Regions from separate parts of the Homo sapiens genome. Here region 2 is linked to region 1. Evidence: promoter capture Hi-C in human tissues and cell types (Jung and others, 2019). All regions are on one chromosome and are shown on one strand. The core of a region is centred on a gene start or on the middle of the fragment in contact, and the rest is flanking DNA. Distances in the headings are between cores, read along the strand shown.

Region 1 (6,592 bases), core at 1,581-4,080:
TAACAATCCCTAAATCCCAATCCCCATGGCCAAACTTAACCAAACTAAATCTCAATTCAAGGTACTCAAAAATACCTGTTCTAGGCTATTTCCCTATCACTTGAAATGCATGATGCCTGCACTCATGCACTGTCTAAACTTCAATAAGCCAAAAAAATTTCTTATGGAGAATGGCTTGGAGAAAAGTACAAGGAAGCATTTTAGTATGTGATTACTCTAAACAGATCAAGACAGAATGGCATGGGCCTGAAGAGAGACAACAATAATATGGATGGAGAGGGGAAACAGATTTGAGAGACATTTCCAACAAAGAACTGATGGGCTTGGTGACCAATGTGGGGAAAGGGTCAAGATGACTCCAAGATATTTGGTTTCTGTAACTGGATATCTTTGATGAATGTCATTCAGCAAAGCAGGGAATATTGGAGGGCATGATCATGAGTCTGGTCTTGAGCCAGAGAAGCCTGCATGACATCAAGGTGAGGATTCATGAGCTGGATGGATATGAAGAAAAGATCTGATTACAGATGGTAAGTGATAAATGAAAGCATGAAAGTGGAAGAAATTAACCTAAATGGGCAGAGAGTGGAAACGGACTTAGGAAGAAAGAAATAAAAAACATATCAAACATAAATCCTTTACTTACCTTCTTCTCAACCTGGGTCTCTTTCCAAGCCTCTCCATTCTTATCAATGAGCCTCTCTTTGCTTAAATGTTTCCCACTCCTTTGGCTCCTATATTCAGTCACTGCATAGAGCAGTGGGTAAAACCATGGACTCTGGAGCCGTATTTCCTAGGATCAAAACCCTGCTCAACTACTTTCTGTGTAAACTCAAACCACTCTGCTTCAATATTCCCATCTATCAATAGTAATTTATTTCATAGGGTTGTTATGGAAAATAAATGATTTAATTTTTTAAAGAGCTTAGAACAGTGTCTGGTATGTACCCTATAAGCATGTGTTAGGTATACAAATAAAGCCTGTCAATTTTCTTTGTGAAATGCTTTAAATGTGTCCTATCCTTATTCCCATTTAACACCAAACCAGCTGAGGTACCTAATATTTCATAGAGTATCACCTCATCACTGTACTAAATTGCTTTTTAAAAGGTCACTAATGACCTCTTCATAAAGAAATGCAATACTCTCCCCTCCCCCAAGTCTCCAGATGCTCTGCATGAATTGATCCAGTGGTCTCTCCTCGAAATTCCCTTCTCTTGATTTCTGGGTCTTCTTGCTTGCTGTAACCCTGCACTCCTACACTTTATTGCCTACTGCTGACTACTACTAGCTCCAATTCCTCTTTCTGCTTCATAAATGCAAGCATTACCCTCCCCCCCCAAATTTCCTTATTTTTCAAAATTCTCTTCCTGATGCCAGCTATTGCCATGGTTTCCACTTCTATGCTGATAACTCAAACTTTTACCTCTAGCTACAATGTTTAGGCTGAGCTAAAGATTTGCATTTCCAACTCCATGCTGGACAGCTCTATGTGTCTGTCTCATTAGACCTTTAATTCAACATGTCCAAAAAATGAATTCATAATCTACACTAAGCTTATGGCTTTATTTCTGATAATGGCATTACCATCCTTCAGCTCAGAGGTCTAAAACCTAAGAATTAGATTTGGTCCCTCACACTTCTTCAGCATTCAGTTAATTATGGAGTCTTGACATAATCATCTCCAGTATATTTGTCTCCTTACCAATGACACCATTATAACTTATTTCAGGAATTTTTTGCCTCTCACTAGGCTGATCCCATTACCCCTTCAAAAGAATCTCCGATAAGCGTTCCTAACTTTTAGCTAAATGTCTAAATGCAGTTAATAGAAAGTCCCTTCTCTATGGGCTTTCTACAGAACAAAATGATTTCCTGCAGTGCAAATCTGACCATATCAATATTCTGTTCCGAACTCTTCAAAAAACTACCCATCTCCTTTAGGATTACACCATTCACCATCTGGACCTCGGTCGACTTTCCCAGTCTCATATCCATTCTGTGCATAGGAGTCCCCCCATTTCCTCCTCTTCCCACACAAGTTATGCTCAGTCATTTCTCCACAGTATTGCAACTGTCTTCCCTGAAAAACTCTTCAACACTTTACTCTCTCCAAGTACAATTCAGACATCACTTTCTTTCTAAAGCCTTCTCAGCAACGGCCCCTTGAGCAATTAACACATATGTGACTGATACATACATACATATATATACACATAGGAGTACTTATTTGTTCAGATCTGGCTCCCAAACTTAATCCCGAAAACTGGAACAATATCTTGCCAATCTCCAGTGTCTGGTATAGCGCCAGTAATATAAAAGGTGCTGCGACCAGTGGCCAAATAGGGGAAAACCCCAGCAAAAGGGTAACCTAGCACTCACAGTGGTTCTCAAAGACTGGCACTGAATGCCTGGTCTTGGGCTGGCTCCCGAGGCTCGTTTTCTTAGGGCCTCACCTCTGGCACTTCTTATAAGATGCCAGAGTCAGGCCCCCAAGCCAACTGCTGGGCCCTCAGCTGGGGTCCTATGAGGCGGTCCCAGGGGCATCCTCAGGCTCCCCACTCCAGTCACAGGGAAGGGAAAGGGGCGGGGCGCAGCGTGGGCCGGGCCAAGGGCTCCTCAAGTCCCCAGGGGCCTAGGCCAGCCTCTCGGCTCCCATCCCAGTGCAGGTCCCGGTTGATCCAGGGCCCCAGGGGGGTTCCATTTTGAGACACCCCGCACCCCAGCCCGCCGCTCCGGCCGTCTCCGCACTTACAGACCCGGGGGAAGGCCGCCGTCAGGATCCGGCACCGCCAGGAGCTCCGGCCCCTCGGGGCTCCGGGAAGGGGGAGGGGCAAGGAACCCGAGCCAAAGGGGGACCCAACGGAACCGGAAGGGCAGCCCTGGCCGGACAAAGACAACTTCCAGGTCCCATGGTCCTCTCCGCCAATCGGAAGGCTCGGAGGACAACAGGGGCCCCGAGAGGGAATTTCTGCGTTGTGGGCGGGGCGCAGACGGAGGGCACCGTACTCTGGGCACTAGCTTCACTGCCTACTACCCCGAGGTGCCTTAGCTCGTAAGCGTCTGTGGCTCAGGCCCTGTGCGCCTCGCAGGGACCCGCTGCTCGGGACCCCCGTCTCAGCGGCTCTTCTGTAGCTGGGCCTAGACGGTCCGCTGCCTCCTTGGGCCTGAAGGGCTCCTCTGCACTTAAACTTTGGTAAGTCTTTTTAGCCTAGGGGTGTAGACTCGTCGCGCGGGAGCCCGAAGAGCAGAAAGCTCTCCCCTCACTTTTGGATGTGTTTTTCAGGGTTCTTGCCTTGGAGTTCTTCCTAGGGCAAACTCTTGCACTCCCATGGCTTCCGTTACCTACTTCATGCTGACCATTCACAACCCAGGCAGCTACATGGACGAGATCTCCAGCTGTCCTGATGTGAAAGTACCTTTTAATGATCTCAAGTTCATCTCATCTCCTATCCAGACCGGAAAACTTGAGGATCCTTCTAGAGTTCTTTTCCTTGCCAATCCAGTTTACTGGTTTTTGACCATTCTTTTCGTTTTTGGTGGTGGTGAGGGGCTTTTTATTGAGGTAAAACATGCGTAATGTTTATTACTTTAATCATTTGTAAGTGTAAAACTTGATGGTCTTGAACTCTGGAGTTAAAGTGATCCACCCTCCTCAGCCTCCCAAAGTGCTGGGATTACATGTGTGAGCCACTGCTCCCAGCCTTTCCCTCTTTTTAATGTAGTTATTTACAACTATACATTTCACTTTGATCACTGTTTTCACTACAGCTCATAAGTTTTTGTATGTTGTGTTATTTTCATTCATTTCTAAGTATTTTCTAATTTCCCTTTTGATTTCTTCTTCTTTTTTTTTCTTTTTTTTGAGATGGAGTTTCGCTCTTGTTGCCCAGGCTGGAGTGCAATGGTGTGATCTCGGCTCACCGCAACCTCCGCCTCCTGGGTTCAAGCGGTTCTCCTGCCTCCGTCTCTAAAGTAGCTGGGATTACAGGCATGCGCCACCACACCGGGCTAATTTGATATTTAGAGATATGGAGACGTGGTTTCTCCGTGTTGGTCAGGCTGGTGTCGAACTCCCGACCTCAGGTGATCCACCCGCCTTGGCCTCCCAAAGTGCTGGGATTACAGGTGTGAGCCACCGTGCCTGACCTTGATTTCTTCTTTGACCCAGTTGTTAAGAGTGTTGTTTAACTTTCAGATATTTGTGACTTTTCCAGTTTTCCTTCTGTTATTAATTTATAACTTCATCTGTGTGGTCCGAGAAGATACTTTGTATGATATCTATCTTGTAAAATATTATGAAACTTGAATTGTGGCATACAGTCTGGTGAATACCTCATGTGCTTTAGAGAAGAATGTGTATTCTGCTCTTGCTGGGTGGAATGTTCTGTATATGTCTTTTAAGTATAGCTGGTTTATTATGATGCTTAGTTCCTCTATTTCCTCACTTATCTTCTATCTGATTCTTCTCCCCGTTACTGAAAATGGGGTATTGTAGTCTCCCACTATTATTGTAGAACTGTTTATTTCTCCTTTTAATTCTGTCCATTTTTGCTTCATGTATTTTGAGAGTCTGTTCCTAGCGAGGTAAATGCCTATAATTTTTATATAATCTTGTTGTAATGAGCCTTTTATTAATATATAATGTCTTTGTCTCTTATAACCTTTTCAAATTTTAAAATCTATTTTGTCTAATGGTAGTATAACTACATCAGCTCTTTTTCAGTAACTATTTGCATGTTATATCTTTTTTCATTAAATTATTATTATTATTATTATTATTATTATTTGCGAGGGAGTCTCACTGTGTCACCCAGGCTGGAGTGCAGTGGTGCCATCTCAGCTCACTGCCACCTTCGCCTCCCGGGTTCAAGTGATTCTCCTGCCTCAGCTCTGGAGTAGCTGGGATTATGGGCGCCTGCCACCATGCCCAGCTACTTTTTGTAAATTATTATTATTTTCTGTGACAGAGTCTTGCTCTGTCGCCCAGGCTGAAGTGCAGTGGCAATCTCGGCTCACTGCAACCTCCACCTCCTGGGTTCAAGCCATTCTCCTGCCTCAGCCTCCCAAGTAGCTGGGATTACAGGTGCACGCCACCATGCCCAGTTAATTTTTGTATTTTTAGTAGAGATGGGGTTTTACCATGTTGGCCAGGCTGGTCTCAAACTCCTGACCTCCCACCTCGGCCTCCCAAAGTGCTGGGACTACAGGCGTGAGCCACTGTGTCCAGCCCTTTTTCCTTGAATTATTGAAAAAAAAATTTTTTTGTAGAGACCGCGCCTTGCTATGTTCCTCAGGCTGCTCTTGGACTCCTGGCCTCAAGCTATCTTTGGTCTCCCAAAGTACTGCGGTTGTAAGCCACTGTACCTGGCCCTTTTCCTAACCTTTTCTTTTCTTTTCTTTTTTTTTTTTTTGAGACAGAGTCTCGCTCTGTCACCCAGGCTGGAGTGCAGTGGCGTGATCTCGGCTCACTGCAAGCTCCGCCTCCCGGGTTCACGCCATTCTCCTGCCTCAGCCTCCCGAGTAGCTGGGACTACAGGTGCGTGCCACCACACCCGGCTAATTTTTTTGTATTTTTAGTAGAGACAGGGTTTCACCATGTTAGCTAGGATGGTCTCGATCTCCTGACCTCATGATCCGCCCACCTCAGCCTCCCAAAGTGCTGGGATTACAGGCGTGAGCCACCACGCCCGGCCTCTAACCTTTTATTTTCAATCTATTTGTGTCTTTGGATGTCAAGTGATTCTCTTGTAGACAGCATTTAGTTGGAGCATGTGGATTGTGTGTGTGTGTTTAAAATTAATTTTCCCTTTCTTTTTAAAAATTAAATATATTTTTAGAGACAGGGTCTCACTCTGTTGCCCAGGCTGGATTGTAGTGGCATGATCACAGCTCACTGAAGCTGGAACTCCTGAGCTCAAGTGGTCTTCTCGCCTCAGCCTCTCAAAGTAGCTGGGACTACAGGTGTGCAACACCACACTTGACGCCTTTATTTTATTTTATTTTATTTTATTTTTTGAGACAGAGTCTCACTCTGTTGCCCAGGCTGGAGTGCAGTGGCGCAGTCTTGGCTCACCGCAGTCTCTGTCTCATGGGTTGAAGCGATTCTCTTTCTCAGCCTCCAGAGTAGCTGGGACCACAGGCATGCGGTCCCATCAAGCAATCCGCCTGCGTTGACCTTCCAGAGTGCTGGGATTATAGGCATGAGCCACTGTGCCCGGACTTGACTCCTTTCTGTCTTTAGATTGGAGAGTTTAACCTTGACTCCTTTCTGTCTTTAGATTGGAGAGTTTAAACCATTTAGATTTAAAGTAATTATTGATAAGGTGGGATTTATATCTGTCACTTCTCTATTTGTGTTTTATATGCTTTTTAAATCTTCATTTCTGCCATTACTGCTTTTTTGTGTTAGTGTTAGTTGATTTTTTTATCATGAAACGTTTGATTCCCCTCTCATTTCCTTTTGTGTATATTCTATAGATATTTTATTGGTGGTTACCATAGGTATTACACTCAACATCCAAAAGTTATAACAATCTAATTTGAATTGATACCAATTAACTTCAATATCATACAAAAACTCTGCTCATGT
Region 2 (6,432 bases), core at 3,354-5,853, 130 kb after region 1:
CAGCCAGATATTTCTTCTTCTTTTTTTTTTTTTTTTTTTTGAGATGGAGTTTAGCTCTTGTCGCCCAGGCTGGAGTGCAGTGGTGTGATCTTGGCTCACTGCAACTTGCGCCTCCTGGGTTCAAGTGATTCTTCTGCCTCAGCCTCCTGAGTAGCTGGGATTACAGGCTCCTGCCATCACGCCTGGCTAATTTTTGTATTTTTAGTAGAGACAGGGTTTTGCCATGTTGGCCAGGCTGGTCTCGAACTCCTGACCTCAGGTGATCCGACCACCTTTGGCCTCCCAGAGTGCTGGGAGTACAGGCGTGAGCCACCGTGCCTGGCCATTTATTTTATACTTATATAACCCAGTTTATTTTGTTGCTCAAATTGCTCCAGCTTTGACCATCGGGAACTCTTTCACTTGGCTCCCACGTCCCTTTGGCATACCCCTATCAATGTAGGTTTGTTTTCTTTGTGGTGTGGGTGAAGGGAGACTATTTCCTATTTTTGGCCAATACAAGATGTTCCAGGCTATCTGCCCTGGTCCTAGAATCAGCCAGCCATTTCTCCAAGGAGGGTTGGTTCCTTTTGTTAGTAAATGGTATTAGATACCAAAATATAGATGCTAGGTGTGCTCCTTGCTACTGGATGTTTTTGCTTCTAGGCCCTGTCAACTGATAGAGCAAGCAAATATATGTATGGTAATATCTTTTTAAATGTTGACAGCAAATCATGTATTGCAGTTAGAATAGGATGGAGTCAATAAACTTTATGTGCAATTTTTTGCAACTTTAGATTCCATTCTTATAGACTAGAAGGAGCATAGGACAAGTATACAAATGACTATTCAGAAACAGAGTAATTGCTGTAAGAGTGGTATCAATGTGGTTTGTAAGTTGGTACAACTTTTCTGGAGGACAAATTGGCAGGGCCACTCAAAATCCAAAAACAAGGATTATGCTGTTTCTTTTTTCTTTTTTTTTTTTTTTTTAATTGATCATTCTTGGGTGTTTCTTGCAGAGTGGGATTTGGCAGGGTCATGGGACAATAGTGGAGGGAAGGTCAGCAGACAAACAAGTGAACAAAGGTCTCTGGTTTTCCTAGGCAGAGGACCCTGCGGCCTTCCGCAGTGTTTGTGTCCCTGGGTACTTGAGATTAGGGAGTGGTGATGACTCTTAACGAGCATGCTGCCTTCAAGCATCTGTTTAACAAAGCACATCTTGCACCGCCCTTAATCCATTTAACCCTGAGTGGACACAGCGCGTTTCAGAGAGCACAGGGTTGGGGGTAAGGTCACAGATCAACAGGATCCCAAGGCAGAAGAATTTTTCTTAGTACAGAACAAAATGAAAAGTCTCCCATGTCTACTTTCTACACAGACACAGCAACCATCCGATTTCTCAATCTTTTCCCCACCTTTCCCCCTTTTCTATTCCACAAAACCGCCATTGTCATCATGGCCCGTTCTCAATGAGCTATTGGGTACACCTCCCAGATGCGGTGGTGGCCGGGCAGAGGGGCTCCTCACTTCCCAGTAGGGGCGGCCGGGCAGAGGCGCCCCTCACCTCCCGGACGGGGCGGCTGGCCGGGCGGGGGGCTGACCCCCCCACCTCCCTCCCGGACGGGGCGGCTGGCCTGGCGGGGGCTGACCCCCACCTCCCTCCCGGACAGGGTGGCTGCCGGGCGGAGACGCTCCTCACTTCCCAGACGGGGTGGCTGCCGGGCGGAGGGGCTCCTCACTTCTCAGATGGGGCGGCTGCTGGGCGGAGGGGCTCCTCACTTCTCAGATGGGGCGGTTGCCGGGCGGAGGGTCTCCTCACTTCTCAGACGGGGCGGCCGGGCAGAGACGCTCCTCACCTCCCAGACGGGGTTGCGGCCGGGCAGAGGTGCTCCTCACATCCCAGACGGGGCGGCAGGGCAGAGGCGCTCCCCACATCTCAGACGATGGGCGGCCGGGCAGAGATGCTCCTCACTTCCTAGATGGGATGGCGGTCGGGAAGAGGCGCTCCTCACTTCCTAGGTGGGATGGCGGCCGGGCAGAGACGCTCCTCACTTTCCAGACTGGGCAGCCAGGCAGAGGGGCTCCTCACATCCCAGACGATGGGCGGCCAGGCAGAGACGCTCCTCACTTCCCAGACAGGGTGGTGGCCGGGCAGAGGCTGCAATCTCGGCACTTTGGGGGGCCAAGGCAGGCAGCTGGTAGGTGGAGGTTGTAGCGAGCCGAGATCACGCCACTGCACTCCAGCCTGGGCACCATTGAGCACTGAGTGAACGAGACTCCGTCTGCAATCCCAGCACCTCGGGAGGCTGAGGGTGGCGGATCACTCGCGGCCAGGAGCTGGAGACCAGCCCCGCCAACACAGCAAAACCCCGTCTCCACCAAAAAAATACGAAAACCAGTCAGGCGTGGCGGCGCGCGCCTGCAATCACAGGCACTGGGCAGGCCGAGGCAGGAGAATCAGGCAGGGAGGCTGCAGTGAGCCGAGACGGCAGCAGCACAGTCCAGCCTCGGCTCGGCATCAGAGGGAGACCGTGGAAAGAGAGGGGAGAGGGGGAGAGGGGGAGGAGGGAGAGGGAGAATGCTGTTTCTTTAGGGAAATTGAGTGATTGTGGAAACTGTCTTTTCTCCCTTAAGAATCACTGTTCTACTTTACAACCTTGTTTATAGCAAAAGGGGTAGAATAGCTGCATATCCCAAAGCTGGAGATTTTGGCAGAGTAAATTATGGTATAATAGTGTGACAGGTTACTGTGCATTAAAAATACTAAGGTAGGATAATGGCCAAATAATATGAAAAGATACAATATTTTGTAGTTAGCAAAAAAAAATTTTTCTAAAATCTACACTCATTTTATAAAAATAAATGGTTATAACCTAAAAAGTTTGGCATATGCGAACCAAATATTAGCCATAGTTATTATCTGAATGGTAAAATTCTTCTTTTTCCTTCCAGTATTATTGTTACAAAAAAGCAAAACAATTTTATTAAAATAAGAAAACAAAAAGGTTTTATTATACTAAGAAAGCCAAAAGTTAGATTTTTTTTTTTTCCTTTTAAAATGCAGTAAGGTATATCATTGATTTTAGGTTATGTTTGGGAAAGAGATTTGGATTTTAGCATGAGGCGTTAATTCTCAGTATTTGTTTAGTGAATAAATTTAAGAAGTGCTGATATTTTACAGTATAGTTTTAAATAGAATTACTTCCAACAATGCCCAAATTGTGCCATGCCAGTCACCCCTTTTTCTCTTGAAGTTTTCAAAGAAATATAAACACAAGGAAGAGTGACAAGTGGAAAACAAGGTTTAATTTGTTAACTGGGAGCCACCAGCAGCACATTGGACTTGAATATATGTCTGGGTTTAAAGGCCTTTCTCTTTGTAATGCTCCAGTCTTCCCCCAGCATGCCCCAGATACTCAGGATATTGCAGCATGCATTTGAGAGAGAACAAAATGTCCTGGGTGCCTTTGTCAGCAGTGACCCTACTTACTACATGGTTCAAGTGGTATTCTGAAATCAGATTAGTGTTCAGTCTACTTGTGAAGTGGTCAGTATGAAGGAGAAGGCATGGACCTCCTCCTGTATACATAGTAATAATGACTCATAAAAGTTTATGACCAGCAAAATGATCTGATTGGTCCATGCATTTCAGAAAAATTAATCAGACACGGTTGTGCCAGTAGAAGTAAAGAGATAAAGGAAGATCAGTGTTATGGTCTGAATGTTTATGTCCCCCCAAAATTCATATGTTAAAACCTAACCATGGCTAGGCAAGGTGGCTCACACCTGTAATCCCAGCACTTTGGGAGGCCGAGGCGGGCGGATCACGAGGTCAGGAGATCGAGACCATCCTGACTAACACAGTGAAACCCCGTCTCTACTAAATAATTAAAAAAATTAGCCAGGCGTGGTGGCGGGCACCTGTAGTCCCAGCTACTCAGGAGGCTGAGGCAGGAGAATGGCGTGAACCCGGGAGGCGGAGGTTGCGGTGAGGCGAGATTGCGCCACTGCACTCCAGCCTGGGTGACAGAGCGATACTCCGTCTCAAAATAAATAAAAATTAAAAAACAAAAACAAAAAAAACTAATCACTAATGTGATGCTGTTAGGAGATGGGGCCTTTGGGAGGTGATTAGGTCATGAGGGCAAAGTCCTTATGCATGGGATTTGTGCTCTTATAAAGAAGAGACCTAGAGAGCTGCCCTGCCCCATATGAGAACACAGCAAGCACATGCCACCTATGAGCTGCAAAGCGACCCTTCACCAAACACTGAATTTTCCAGCATCTTGATCTTGGAATTTCCAGCCTCCCAGACTGTAAAAACAATTCCTGTTGTTTATAAGCCACCCAGTTTGTAATATTTTGTTAGAGTAGCCCAAAGCGACTAAGACAATCATTTAGGCTGTTATATTAGTCTTGGTAAGATGAAGCATGGGTCTGCCTTTGGGTGATGCACTAGAAGTGGAAAGGAAGAGACAGAATCCAGACTCTGCAGAAAGATCTCCAGATCAGTGATGATTCATGGTAGCTAGAATCAGAAACAAGGTGGTAAAACCTGCTGCCATTCACAAGAATAGAGAACTGTTGAGAAATGTTGGTGGAGGGAGGTGGGGAATGTGAGATTACAGTTTTTGTGAGTGTAGTATAATTTACATACAATAAACATACACCTTATGTGTTCATTTTGATGAGTTTTGACAATTTCTTATATTTGTGTAAACACCAAAGAAAATATAAACATTTCTGTCATCTCAGAAAGTTCCCTTATGCCCCTTTTCAGTTGATTTCCCTCCCACCCCCAGGTAACCATTTCGGTTTCTGTCACCATGGGCTTTTGCTCAACATAATGTTTTTGAGATTTATTTGTGTTGTTTCATGTATTAGAGGTTCATTTGTATTGCTGGGTAGTATTCCATTAGATGGATATACCATAATTTATCACTTTTTCTGTAGATGGACATTTGAGGTTTCTAGTTGGGCTATTACACATGAGGGTATTAGGAATGGAATTGCTGGGTCATGGTAGTTAGGTATATATTTAACTTTCTGGGAAACTGCCATGTTCTTTACCAAAGTGGTTATATCATTTACACACCCATTAGCAACCATTGAGAGTTCCAGTAATTTCATATTCTCACCAACATTTGGTATTTTTATTTTAGCCAGTCTCATGTGTGTCAGTTTGTGTTTATAATTTGTGAGCTGTATATACTGTTTATTTTGCTGCTTGAAATGTCAGGGACTATATACCACTACAATTACAGGGTTTTATTGAAACGTGTACTACACTGCATAGACAGGAATATACAGACTTTTGCAAAATGCAGCAAACATTTTTAACATTTGTTATTATGTGAAAAAAGTACAAAAGTGTTCAAAGAGATATACATTTCAAGTTGTAGCAGGTTGTGACAAAGTTTCTGAGGGCAAAGCATGTATAAAATTAATAACATGTTAGTATATTTAAAATCATAACAAAAATCTTCTCTCTGGTCATGCTGACCATAACAAATTACTGTGTTGTAGTATACTTATAACAAGGGTTAACAAACTACCACCTCAGGGCCAGGTTCAGTTTGCCTCTCACTTTTGTTTATTCATTTTTGTTGTTGTTGTTATTGTTGTATAAGACAGGCTCTCTCTCTTACTGCCCAGGCTGGAGCACAGTGGCACAGTCTTGGCTCACTGCAACCTCTACCTCCTGGGCTCAAGGGATCCTCTTGCTTCAGCCTCCCGAATAGCTAAGACAGGTGTATGCCAGCACGCCCGGCTAATTTTTGTATTTTTGTAGAGATGAGATTTTGCCATGTTGCCCAGGCTGGTCTCAATCTCCTGGGCTCAAGTGGTTTACTCGCCTCGGCCTCCCAAAGTGCTAGGATTACAGGCATGAGCTACTGCGCCTGGCATGCGCTTGCTTTTATAAATAAAGTTTTGTTAGGACACAGCAGTGCTTGTTTATTTACATATTGTCTATGGCTGCTCTACAAGGGAAGAGTTGAATAACTGCAGCACTGAATGGCTTGCAAAGCCAAAAATTTTTACCTGACCCTTTATAGAAGAAGTTTGCAAGATGGCAATAGTGCATAATCCTATTGCATTTTTGTTTTCTTCTGGAAATTAAGGGTGTTTTTCTTGGGATAAATGAATTAGCCAAAACACAAAACCAGTTGATCAAACAAAACAAAACAAAACAAAACAACCCACCTCTCTTATAACAGCAGTAATTTTCAGAACGTAACAACTGACAATACTTTTGCCATTCATTCCGTGTTCTTTTAAAGTCACCATCTGTGCACTGTTGCCGTAAGTACATTTATAAAAACTTGTCTGTTAAGCCATTATACTAACTACAGCCTCCTTAAGAGGATGTATTTGGTTGACTTGATCAGTTTGGCCACGAATAGTGTTACATGTGTTGCATTGGCAGGCTCTCTACATCAGTTACATTTA

The links. The method cuts DNA at HindIII sites, captures the fragments that hold promoters and counts their contacts. A contact is called where the count stands out against the background at its distance.
Region 2: a contact is called between a fragment that was not itself captured here and the fragment with the promoter of ZBTB26 in region 1, in 1 of the 25 tissues and cell types used here (IMR-90 fibroblasts).

What each region holds. Positions count from the first base shown.
Region 1 is chr9:122,928,682-122,935,273 of GRCh38, forward strand. It overlaps ZBTB26 (zinc finger and BTB domain containing 26), which reads right to left and starts at 2,831. Exons shown (of 2, transcript NM_020924.4): 1 at 2,756-2,831. It also overlaps a transcript of RABGAP1 not described here. RefSeq lists a silencer at 2,603-2,942. The HindIII fragment of the contact is 7,569 bases long and covers 273-6,592 here.
Region 2 is chr9:123,055,527-123,061,958 of GRCh38, forward strand. All of the region lies in intron 13 of RABGAP1 (RAB GTPase activating protein 1), which reads left to right. Among named protein-coding and RNA genes, the nearest start is that of GPR21, 25 kb to the left of the region's middle. The HindIII fragment of the contact is 5,392 bases long and covers 1,908-6,432 here.